3 separate regions of the Homo sapiens genome follow, and regions 2 and 3 are each linked to region 1. The links are contacts of gene promoters, found by promoter capture Hi-C in human tissues and cell types (Jung and others, 2019). All regions are on one chromosome and are shown on one strand. Each heading gives the region's core, a stretch centred on a gene start or on the middle of the fragment in contact. The rest is flanking DNA. Distances are from core to core; before and after follow the strand shown. Region 1 holds the start of ASL (argininosuccinate lyase). Region 2 overlaps TPST1 (tyrosylprotein sulfotransferase 1). Region 3 overlaps TPST1 (tyrosylprotein sulfotransferase 1).

Evidence for each region. The method cuts DNA at HindIII sites, captures the fragments that hold promoters and counts their contacts. A contact is called where the count stands out against the background at its distance.
Region 2: a contact is called between a fragment that was not itself captured here and the fragment with the promoter of ASL in region 1, in 2 of the 25 tissues and cell types used here (adrenal gland and mesenchymal stem cells).
Region 3: a contact is called between a fragment that was not itself captured here and the fragment with the promoter of ASL in region 1, in 1 of the 25 tissues and cell types used here (mesenchymal stem cells).

What each region holds. Positions count from the first base shown.
Region 1 is chr7:66,073,592-66,077,420 of GRCh38, reverse strand. It overlaps ASL (argininosuccinate lyase), which reads right to left and starts at 1,602. Exons shown (of 17, transcript NM_000048.4): 1 at 1,565-1,602; 2 at 1,328-1,382. The coding sequence starts at 1,339. RefSeq lists an enhancer at 1,052-1,331 and a silencer at 1,432-1,961. The HindIII fragment of the contact is 4,995 bases long and covers 918-3,829 here.
Region 2 is chr7:66,279,037-66,282,865 of GRCh38, reverse strand. All of the region lies in intron 2 of TPST1 (tyrosylprotein sulfotransferase 1), which reads right to left. Among named protein-coding and RNA genes, the nearest start is that of TPST1, 76 kb to the right of the region's middle. The HindIII fragment of the contact is 5,313 bases long and covers 1-3,829 here.
Region 3 is chr7:66,235,468-66,239,296 of GRCh38, reverse strand. All of the region lies in intron 1 of TPST1 (tyrosylprotein sulfotransferase 1), which reads right to left. Among named protein-coding and RNA genes, the nearest start is that of TPST1, 32 kb to the right of the region's middle. The HindIII fragment of the contact is 3,403 bases long and covers 24-3,426 here.

The DNA of each region.
Region 1 (3,829 bases), core at 353-2,852:
ACTGGATCTCACTCTGTTGCCTGGGCTGGAGTGCAGTGGTGAGATCATGCTCACTGCAGTCTCAAACTCCTGGGCTCAAGCAATCCTCATGCCTCCGCCTCCTGTGAGACTACAGGTGTACGCCACCACACCTGGGTAATTTTCAAAATCTTTTTGTAGAGACAGGGTCTCATTACATTGCCCTGGCTGGTCTGGAATTCCTGGGCTTCAGCAGTCCTCCCGCCTCGGCCTCCCAAAGTAGAAATATCAGTATTGTTGTGGTTAGCCACCATTTATTGAGCACCTACTGTTGCTCAGCCCTGTGCTAGGGATTTCACATATGTTATTACGGCCTTTTATGAGGTGGGCAATATTACCCCTATTTCACAAATGAGGAAAGAGGTTTAAAGGGCTCAAGTGACTGGTACAGAAACCAAGTCTGTTTGGCTCCAAAGTCCAGGCCCTACCCCCCTGCCATGACCCAGAAGCTTGCAGGGCACTGAGCTTGCAGGGCATTGAGAAAGAGGAAGTGAATTGCTAGCTAATGAAGGCCAAAAGGGCCTGGAACCCAGACCTCCTGCTTCCCGGAGTTCCCTTCATCAAGCATCAGGCGAACAGCCCCTCTCACCTGAAGGGTCCAAAGCAATGGCCTCATAATCTAGTGCCTTACAGAGTGAGGCCGACAGCTATTATTACCCCCATTGCCAGATAAATCAACTATGGCCCAAGGAAGGAAAACCTCTGCCTGGGAATCCAGCATCTCAGTGGTCAGGAGGAGAGGCCAGGAGCCACTGACCCTAAGAGGCAGGGTCCAGTGAGACAGGAAGGGACCAGGCACCAGGGTTGCTGGAGCCACGAGGCGACGTCCCCTTTTTCCTGGCTCTTTCCACATGCCACAGTCAAGGACAAGAACACTTAGGGGCTGAGCTTTATTCTATAAACAGGGACAATTGCTCTAGCAGGAGAAGGGATGTGGTGTGGGGTGGGACCTGACAGGAGGACACGTGGTAAGAAGGAAGGAAGAGTTGGAAGGCTGAAGGCTTGGGAGCCACTTTTCCTGGCCAGGCAGGCATCACTGTGAGGTGAGGGCAGAGCCACTCTACCCCTAGTAGTGTGGGTTGGTGGGTTTGCCACAAGGGCTGCCTGCGGATACTGGTGAGTCCTGGTAAAGGTGACTGCTGGGCTCCAGATGATGCGCCCGGGAGGGCTGGGGGTGCAGGCTTCCTAGGTAATTTTCAAAATTGCTTCCTGGAGGGCGATTCCCAGCAGGGTGGCCCGAGGCAGGTCTGGCGCCCCCACTCTCTCCTTTGGAGGCTAGGAGGACCGGAGTCCCCGAGGTCCCACTCACCTCCGAGGCCATGTTGGGCGGTTCCTCGTCGTCCGGAAGCTTCGGTCCTCCGGGTCTGGAAGACAAGACCGGACTGACGACCTCCTTGGCCAGCAGGGTCCCCCGGGCCGGGCTGGCTCCGAGTTCTGGGCACTGCGCTTGAGGGAGCGCAGCCCTTGGGGACGCGGACGTGAGCGCGCGCCACGGTGCTCGGCGTCCTCCACGCCCGTCCCGCCCATCCGGCCGCCGCGCACTCACCTCCGCCTGGCCGCACGGATAGTGTCGCGCCCGCCACTGGCCAGGGCTTTTCTGGCCGGGATGGCGTCAGCAGCCGCCGGTCCTGTCCCCACCCCTGGCGACGGCCGCGCCAATAGGAGGCCGCCCGGCGGGGTGGGCGTTGCCTCCATCCTCCAATCCTGGCCGTGGGCGGGGATACCTCCCGCTGAGCTGGAGGCTAAGCGGCCCCGGGGCGGGGAAGCGGGCGGGGAAAGGGTTGGGGGGACCCCGACGGGGAAGGGGCCTGGGCTGGGGTTGAGGAGGGTAGTGCGCTGGCGTTCGTGCTGTGGTCAGCAGACACGCAGGGGACTGGAGACTCGGGCCAGGGGTAGAGGCTATGACATCAGGCCCGGGCCTGGCAGGTTCACAAGATATATAAGGTGAAATGGCATGTTCGCTCATTCACTCATTCATTCATTCATTCAACAAACACGTACCAGGCACCTCTATGTGCCAGGTACAGAGAAAGGCATCAAGGAAAAAGGAAGGACCATCAGAAATGAAGCCTGTGCCAGGCGCGGTGGCTCACAGCTGTAATCCCAGCACTTTGGGAGGCCGAGGTGGGAGGATCGCTTGAGGCTACGAGTTGGAGACCAGCCTGGGCAATACAACAAGATCCCGTCTCTACAAAAAAATTAATAATAATAAAAAAAAAGCCGGGCGTGGTGGTGCACGCCTGCAGTCCTAGCTACTCAGGAGGCTGAGGCGGGAGGAGCACTTGAGCCCAGGAGTTCGAAGCTGCAGTGAGCTATTGTGCCACGGCACTCCAGCCTGACTCCTCTAAAAAAGAAAAGAAACGCGGCCGGAGGCCGGGCGCGGTGGCTCACGCCTGTAATCCCAGCACTTTGGAAGGCCGAGGCGGGTGGATCACGAGGTCAGGAGTTTGAGACCAGCCTGGCCAAGGTGGTGAAACCCCGTCTCTACTAAGAATACAAAAATTAGCCGGGCACGGTGGCGGGTGCCTGCAATCCCAGCGACTCCGGAGGCTGAGGCAGGAGAATCTCTTGAACCCGGGAGGCGGAGATTGCAGTGAGCTGAGATGGTGCCATTGCACTCCAGCCTGGGTGACAGAGCAAGATTCTGTCTCAAAAAAAAAAAAAAAAAAAAAAAGAAAGAAAGAAAGAAAGAAAGAAAAGAAAAGAAAAAAGAAACGCAGCCGGGCACAGTGGCTTACGCCTTTAATCCCAGCACTTTGAGAGGCTGAGGCGGGCGGATCACCTGAGGTCAGGAATTCGAGATGAGCCTGGCTGACATGGTGAAACCTTGTCTCTATTAGCCGGGTGTGGTGGTGGGTGCCTGTAGTCCCAGCTACTCCGACAGCTGAGGCAGGAGAATCACTTGAACCAGGGAGGTGGAGGCTGCAGTGAGCTGAGACGGCACCACTGCACTGCAGCCTGGGCGACAGTGAGACTCTTGTCTCGAAAAAAAAAAAAAAAAAAGAAAGAAAGAAAGAAAAAGAAAAAGAGAAGAGAAAACAAAGAAAGAAACGAAACAAAAGAAATGAAGCCTGACTTCAAGAAGTTCCAACATAGCATGGAGGAGGTGTGCAGGGAGCACAGGCGTTGGGGAGGGGGGCTATGTTGGGTACTCAGGGAAGAGGTCCTTGATCTGATTAATTAATTATTCAACCAAAATGTCAGGCTGGATTCTAGGCACTGGAAGTACCCTGAAGGGGCTTCTAATGAACCTGTCTTCTGCATTGGGTCTTGGAAGATGGGGGGAATTTGCCCAGGGAAGAAGGGGAGAACATTCCAGGCAGAGGGAGAAGTCTGGACAAAAAATGTGACTGGCCTGCTTTAAGAACAGGAAATCATCCAAGTGGCTGTAACTATAACAAAAGGTAGGGAGGAGAGGTGGAAGGAGTTTGGGAGAAGGCTGTGAAGAGTCTTCAATGTCAAGAGAGGGAGTTTGTTCTTGGTCCTATAGGTCATAGGAAACCCCGATCGATTTTAAAATCAGAGGAGCCAAATTTATTTTATTTTATTTTATTTTTATTTATTTTTTTGAGATGGAGTTTCGCTCTTATTGCCCAGGCTAGAGTGCAATGGCACGGTCCCAGCTCACTGCAACCTCTGCCTCCCAGGTTCAAGCGATTCTCCTGCCTCAGCCTTCCAAGTAGCTGGGGTTACAGGCATGCACCACCACGCCTGGCTAATTTTATATTTTTAGTAGAGATGGGGTCTCTCCATGTTGGCCAGGCTGTTCTTGAACTCCTGACCTCAGGTGATCTGCCCGCCTCAGCCTCCC
Region 2 (3,829 bases), core at 701-3,200, 210 kb before region 1:
AAGAAACACATTCGTTCAACCCAAAGGATAGATCATTAAAATAAAATAGAAAATGAGAACAAGATACGATGCAGTCCCAATCTTCAAGGAGGTCACGGTCTGGTTGGGGAGCCACACAAACATTCCACATTGAAACTCTCAGAGTTGCCTCTTAGTCCCGCATCAGCTCTCTGGGCTTCACTTTTCCCTCTTTCCATGGGTTCTAGTTATTTAGCTTATGTTTTTCTAAGAGGCAGCAAAGTGTAGTGGAGAGAACGCAGACCTGGAAGTCAGGTCTGTATGATCCAGTTTTGTAATCTAAGAAAAACTCTGATCCTAAGAGACTGAGGATAATGACCACTAACAGACGGAGACACAGTTTCCAAAACATTTTCAAAGCAGGAGTTGACAACTATTGCTCCAATCTGGCCTGCTGCCTGTTATGTAAATAAAGTTTTACTAGAACATAACCATGGCCATTTGTTCCTGTACTGCCTATGGCTGCTTTTGCTCTATAACAGAAGAGCTCAATGCTTACAACAGAAATCATATGGCCTGCAAAGCTAAAAATATCTGGCCCTTTACAGAAAAAGTTTGCCAACTTTTGTTCAAAAGGACACAGTGATTAGAGGGAAATGGGCCTGGAACTGAGAGCCTAATTTTCTTTTCTCGATAATAACCTGCAGACTGCAAGGAGCTCATTAAATCTCCCCTATTCCTTCAGTCCTTACAGAATTAACCAACACTTAGATCTAAAGCATACTACGGTATGAACTAGATACCATTCTACACCCCTTTAGCTTACTGAGACCTCAAAACATAGTGCCTCACAGACTGGTACATTTCAATACACACGGCCCATGCACACTGAGACAAGATATCTGTGACTCAGCAAGTTCTCCCCAGTCCCAACTGCCCAGGCTTCCTTCCGTCTGTGGCAGTCACAGTGGCGGCAACTCCTCCTCAAGGAATGGGGTCTATGCCAAAGTCTTGAATGACTGAGGTGAATACAATTCTCCACGACATTCATTTTAAGCATGGATCTTCCACGAGACTCAGTTAAACACTACAGCCAGGCTGACTGCCAAACCACAGGTCTGAATTATGATACCCAGCAACTACTACAAGAAACCAAATCCTCCATATTAAAGCATAGGGGATGGAACAGATATGCAAAAAGGAATGAGTGAAAGAGTACATAATCCAAGTGGTTAGGTTTATTACAGTAAAACATGTAATGAAATACCATTAAAAACCATGTTTTCAAAGACTTTCACTATTAGAAAATGCTCAGGTCATGTCTTGTGAAAGAAGATTTTAAAATGTATATACAATAGAAATTCAACTTTGTGAAAATGTGTTCTACAGACCAATAATGAGTTCCTAAATTGAATTAGTACTAAAAAACCTACCAACCAGAAAAAGCCCTAGACAGGAGGGATTCATAACCAAACTCTATCAGATGTATAAAGAAGACCTTGTACCAAACCTACTGAAACTATTCCCAAAAATTCAGGAAGAGGGACTCCTTGCCAACTTATTCTATGAGGTCAGCATCATTCTGACACCAAAACCTATCAGAGATACAACAAAAAAAGAAAACTTCAGGCCAATATCCCTGATGAACACAGATGCAAAAATCCTCAACAAAAATACTAGGAAACAGAGACTAGAAGCACATCAAAAGCTAATCCACCACAATCAAGTAGGCTTTATCCCTGGGATGCAAGGTGGGTTCAACATACACAAACCAATAAATGTGATTCATCACATAAACAGAACTAAAGACAAAAACTACATGATCATCTCGATAGACACAGAAAATGCTTTCAATAAAATTCAGCATCCCTTCATGTTAAAAACTCTCAACAAGCTAGGCATCGAAGGAACATACCTCAAAACAATAAGTGATATCTATGACAAACCCACAGCCAACATCCAGAACATGCTGAAATGTTCTGGAGGGCCCACAGATGTGGAAATTATGTATTTGTAAGAATTATATTAAACAATCTTTATTTGATAAATAGTACCTTACAATTCTAATGCTATCTATCAAACTTCAATAAGAGCAATTTCAGCATCAAGTAATGAACAATAGCTAAACTAACAAGAAATCAATCAAAAGTGCTTTAAAGGGAGCAGCACCAGTTGATGTGCTGCTGGAAGCATACCATACTGGAAGTATTCCCATTGAGAACCAGAATAAGACCAGGATGCCCTCTCTCACCACTCCTACTCAACACAGTACTGGAAGTCCTAGATAGAGTAGTAAGAAAAATAAAGGCATCCAGGAAGAGTGGAAGTCAACTATCTTCCATATTTGCAGACGATATGACTTTATACCTAGAAAACCCCACAGTCTCTGCCCAAAAGCTTCTAGATCTGATAAACAACTTCAGTAAAGTTTCAGGATACAAAATCATTGTACAAAAATAGCATTTCCATACACCAACAATATCCGAGCTGAGAGCTAAATCAAAAACACAATCCCATTCACAATAGCCACGAAAACTTGAACCATGTGTGTCAGACCCATGACCTACAAGAAGATGGCCCAAGATCTGGCCCAGGAATTGGAGAAAGACGCTTCCAATGCTTAGAGGAAGGTCCTCTTCTATGAGAAAACAGCCCAAGAATGCTGGGTGGCTTCCACGTCCACTGTGCGAGTGCTCTAGGTGCTCTGGAAAGAAAATGACCACAATAGGCAGAAGCCAGCTGACTGTGAGGTCAAGTTTCAGCCTTTCCCAAGCTGTCCTTTGGTGCCAGGATTTCCGTCTGCAGCCCACAAGGGCCGAGAAATGCCAGGGGGACTGTGGGCCACCACACCCCCAGGAGGGAGGCAGGTCACGATGTGAAGGCTTAGGTCCAGAGCACCTGCTGGTTTGATTCCGTTTTCCCCATAGGAGAGTCCTGAATGCCCAGAGCCTTAGCAGCACATCAGCTGGTGCTGCTCCATTTAAAGCCCTTTTGATTGATCTCTTGTCAGTTTAGCTACTGTTCATTACTTGATGCTGAAATTGCTCTTACTGAAGCTTGATAGATAGCATTAGGATTGTAAGGTACTATTTATCAAATAAAGATTGTTTAATATAATTCTTACAAATACATTATTTCCACATCTCTGGGCCCTCTAGAATTATACAGAATAAGTATTGTATTTTCATTTAGAGAAAAGGCCCCTCTTACCCCAACATCATTGTGTTTCATATGGATAGGAAAGTTTAAAACAAAGACCGTTTCTGATCTATGAGCTGTTATTAGAAAATAGTAGAGTAAATTGGCCAGAATAAGCTTTAGTTTTAAAACAAAACAAAACAAAGAAAAGAGTATGCTTATATCTGCTGGTGGGAATGTAAATTAGTTTAGCCACTGTGGACAGCAGTTCGAAGATTTCTCAAAGAACTCAGAACTACCATTAGACCCAGTAACCCCCTTACTGGATATATACCCACAGGAATATAAATCGTTCTACTATAAAGACACATGTAACTGTATGTTCATCGCAACACTGTTCACAATAGCTAAGACATGGAACCAACCTAAATGCCCACAACAGTGGACTGGATGATGAAAATGTGGTAGATATACACCATGGAATACTACACAGCTATAAAAAAATGAAATAGTGTCCTTTGCAGCAACATGGATGGAGTTGGAGGCCATTATCCTAAGCGAATTAATACATGAACAGAAAACCAAATACTGCATGTTCTCACTTATAAGTGCTAGCTAAGCACTGAGCACACATAGATACAAAGGGGAACAACAGACGCTTGGGCCTACTTAAGGGTCGAGGGTGGGAGGAAGGTGAGGATCGAAAAACTACCCATAGAGTACTATGCTTATT
Region 3 (3,829 bases), core at 476-2,975, 160 kb before region 1:
GAAAGTAGGAAGGAAGGACCAGGTGCAGCAGCTTACGCCTGTAATCACAGCTCTTTGGGAGACCGAGATGGGAGGATCATTTGAGCTCAGGAGTTCGAGACCAGCCCACACTGAGACCCTGTCTCTTTAAGAAAGAAAAGACAGAGGGAGGGATATTCTAAACCAAAGGAACTTGTGTGCAAAAGCACAATGGCAAGACAGAACACAGCATAATTAGGTGACAGGAAGAAGTTTAGGAAAGCTAGTGTATAGGCTGCAAACAAAATTGTATGTATAAGTATCTGTGATCTAATCCTCAGAAGGACAGGTAAGATCTGGACACAGGAAGCACTCCATGCTGCAGGTACACTATGACCAAAGACATGGATGTGCAAAAGCAGAAGCATGTATATGAAACAGCTGGAGCTGCTAGTTTAGCTAGAGCAAGGGTATACAGTGGGAAACAGACAGCAACCAGACTACATGTACACCAAAATAATTTACCCTGAATCCTCAGAAGGCAAGTGTGACAGTTAATTTTATGTGTCAACTTGGCTAGACTTTGGTGTCCAGTTGTTTGATCAAACACCAATCTAGATATGTCTGTGAAGGTATATTTTAGATGTGATTAACACTTAAATCAACAGATTTCTAGTAAAGTGGATTACCCTCCATAATACAGGAAGGCCTCATCTAACAGGTAAAGGCTTTAAGAGCAAAGACTGAGGTTTCCTGGAAAAGAACTACAACATAGAAACCCTGCCTGTGTGTCCAGCCTGCTACCGAGCAGAATCTGGAGTTAAGACTGTGGCAGGCCAGGTCTCACTAACGCAGGCCTCCATAACAACTGTTTCAGTACTGACTGAGTGGTTAAGTTAAATATTAAAAGCTAAAAAAAAAAAAAAAAAAGCCAGTGCTGTTATACAAAGGCTGGAATGTAACAAAAGCGCACCAAGAGTTTTGCCCAGGCCTTTCCTGGGCCTTAAAGCATGACAAAATAACGAAGGAATTCTTAACAGGACCCATTTAGGATTAAACAAGTTTTATTAGGGGTCTGAAGAAACTCCCCAGGCCTCCACAAACAAGTTTATTGGAGGTCTGAAGGAACTCTCCAAATCTCCGTGATTTAGCAGGAGATAAGATAAGGGTAATCACCCCAGAACCTAGACCCACTTAGATGAAGTAAACTTACTGAGGCTCCAGAAGAAGGGCTTCAGGACTCAGACTTTAGTTACAGATTAAAAGAAGTTAATCACTTACATCTTCAGATGAATGCACACTTACATGCAGACATATAGGTTAGAAGGTACATAAGCTCAGAAAAACTTTGTAATTTTAAGTCGGTCTGGTGATAATTTCCAGGCCTCCCTGTAACAGTTACAGAAATAAAAACTCTCTTCCTCCCCAGTTCATCTGCATCTCGTTATTGGGCCACAAGAAACAGCAACCCGACCCTCAGTTTGGTCCGGGAACAAGACTGCAACATCAACTCATCTCTGCCCAACTGCCCTGTGAATTTCAGACTTGAAAGCCCCACAATCGCATAAGTGAATTCCTTAAAATCAGTCTCTTTCTCTCCCTACCCCCGACCCCTCCCCATATACAGAGTGGGCATGCGCGTTACCCACCACTCTAAATTCAGTGAGATCCCTTCCAACCCACTAGCAAAGCAGCCAGTCCTAATGGTTTGCCTTACCCTGACTACTGGTTGTTTTTCTGTAAAACCCTAACACAGGGGTTTGGTTTTGTTTTTCTGGAGAACCCTAAGGATACAGTAAATATACCTGGGGAAATGACTAACTACACTAAAAAATACATTCTGAGAGGGAAGACTTCCAGCTACAGCCTAGTGAGAAGGTAGTTAATTCCTCTCCCCAAAAACCAATGATAAAGCTGGGTGAAATGGGCAAAACAACCCTTTCAGTGCTCTGGAAATCCACCAGAAGAATACAACAACCTGAGAAGCATTTATGCTTGAAAAACTGCTAAAAGGTGGGTAAGAACAATGAGGGTCTGTGTAAGGTTACTCCCACCTCATCTACTCATTCAGTAGGTACAGAGGTTCTGCAAGGCAGAGCAGGGCAAGGCAAACCATTAGGACTGACAGTTCACTGAGTTTGGAGTGGGGAAGAACGCACATGACCACCTGCACTGTCAGAGTAAGTGATGGAGCAGGTGGGAGGCGAGTGAGAGGGTGAACAGCTCTAGAAGGTGGAGGTTGCAGTCTGGGTGGGGCACATTTGTTGGCCAACCCAGAAGTGGCATGCAGGCACAGAGGAGACATGAAAGGACTGGGTGGAAAGTAAAAGACAGCAGATCTGAAAAAGCCTAAACTTTGTATGTGCTCCCTACCCACAGAGATCTACTGGCAGAGGACAAATGCCTTACTGGCTCAAGATGTCTGAGGCAACCACTGTCCAAGCACTGGGTGACCACTGATCACTAAGCTATGCAGACAGGAAGGCAACTCCTAGAAAGCCATGCTTAAAAATGAAAACAATTATAAAGTGTGTGCACACTTGTTTTTAAAAAAGCTTTATTGAAGTGTAATTTATATATAGTATGTGAACTTCCAAAACCTAAGACAGGTATCAGTTAATTTAGAAAGTCTATTTTGCCAAGGTTGGGGAACACGCCTGTGAAACAGCCTCAGGAAGTCCTGATGACCTGTGCCCAAGGTGGTTGAGATACAGCTTGGTTTTATACATTTTAGGGAGACATGAGACATCAATCAATATATGTAAGAAGTACATTGGTTCCGTTTGGAAAGGTGGGACAGCTCAAAGCAAAGGCAGTATATATACATTAAGTATATATACTTAAATAAAGTACATATACCTTACACTATATATACTTCATTAAAGTTGTTTAGATATAAACAATCCTAAAAGTGTGTGTGTGTATATACATATATATATGAGAGCAACATAAGCACACATTTAAATGACAAGGCAAATTTATAGAGACAGAGTGAAAAAGCAGGGATTTAAGTGCAAGCTTACATGAAGGAACTTTTTGCGGTGACTGAACTGTTCTAAAACTGAACTGTTGTCATAGTTGTACAACCCTATAAAATCTACTAAAAAATTATTGAATTACACCCTCATACTTGTGAAAGGAAAATAAATCTTGGGGCCCCCAAATCACTAAGCTAAAGGGAAAAGTCAAGCTGGGAACTGCTTATGGCAAACCTGCCTCCCATTCTATTCAAAGTCATCCCTCTGCTCACTGTCTGTCAAAGTATTTTTCTAGTAATGAATTCCTTTTTTTAAAAAAAAGCTGTATTGAAGTGTAATTTATATATATAGTATGTGAACCTCCAAAGTCTGAGACAGGTATCAGTCTCAGTCAGACAGATAGATGCATATATGATTGCCTCCTTTGGAAAGGCTAATCAGAAACTCAAAAGAATGCAACTGTGCGTCTCTCACCTATCAGTGACCTGGAAGCCCCTTCCCCGCTTCAAGTCTTCCTGCCTTTGCTTCGAGCTGTCCCACCTTTCCAAACGGAACCAATGTACTTCTTACATATATTGATTGATGTCTCATGTCTCCCTAAAATGTATAAAACCAAGCTGTATCTCAACTACCTTGGGCACACGTCATCAGGACTTCCTGAGGCTGCTTCACAGGCGTGTTCCCCAACCTTGGCAAAATAAACTTTCTAAACTAACTGATACCTGTCTCAGATTTTGGAAGTTCACATACTATATATATAAATTACACTTCAATACAGCTTTTTTTTAAAAAAGGAATTCATTACTAGAGAAGTACTTTGACAGTCTCAGTAGAATACACCAACTAAGAACTGGTTCTTATTTATTCATGTGTATACTCTTTTAATCATTCAT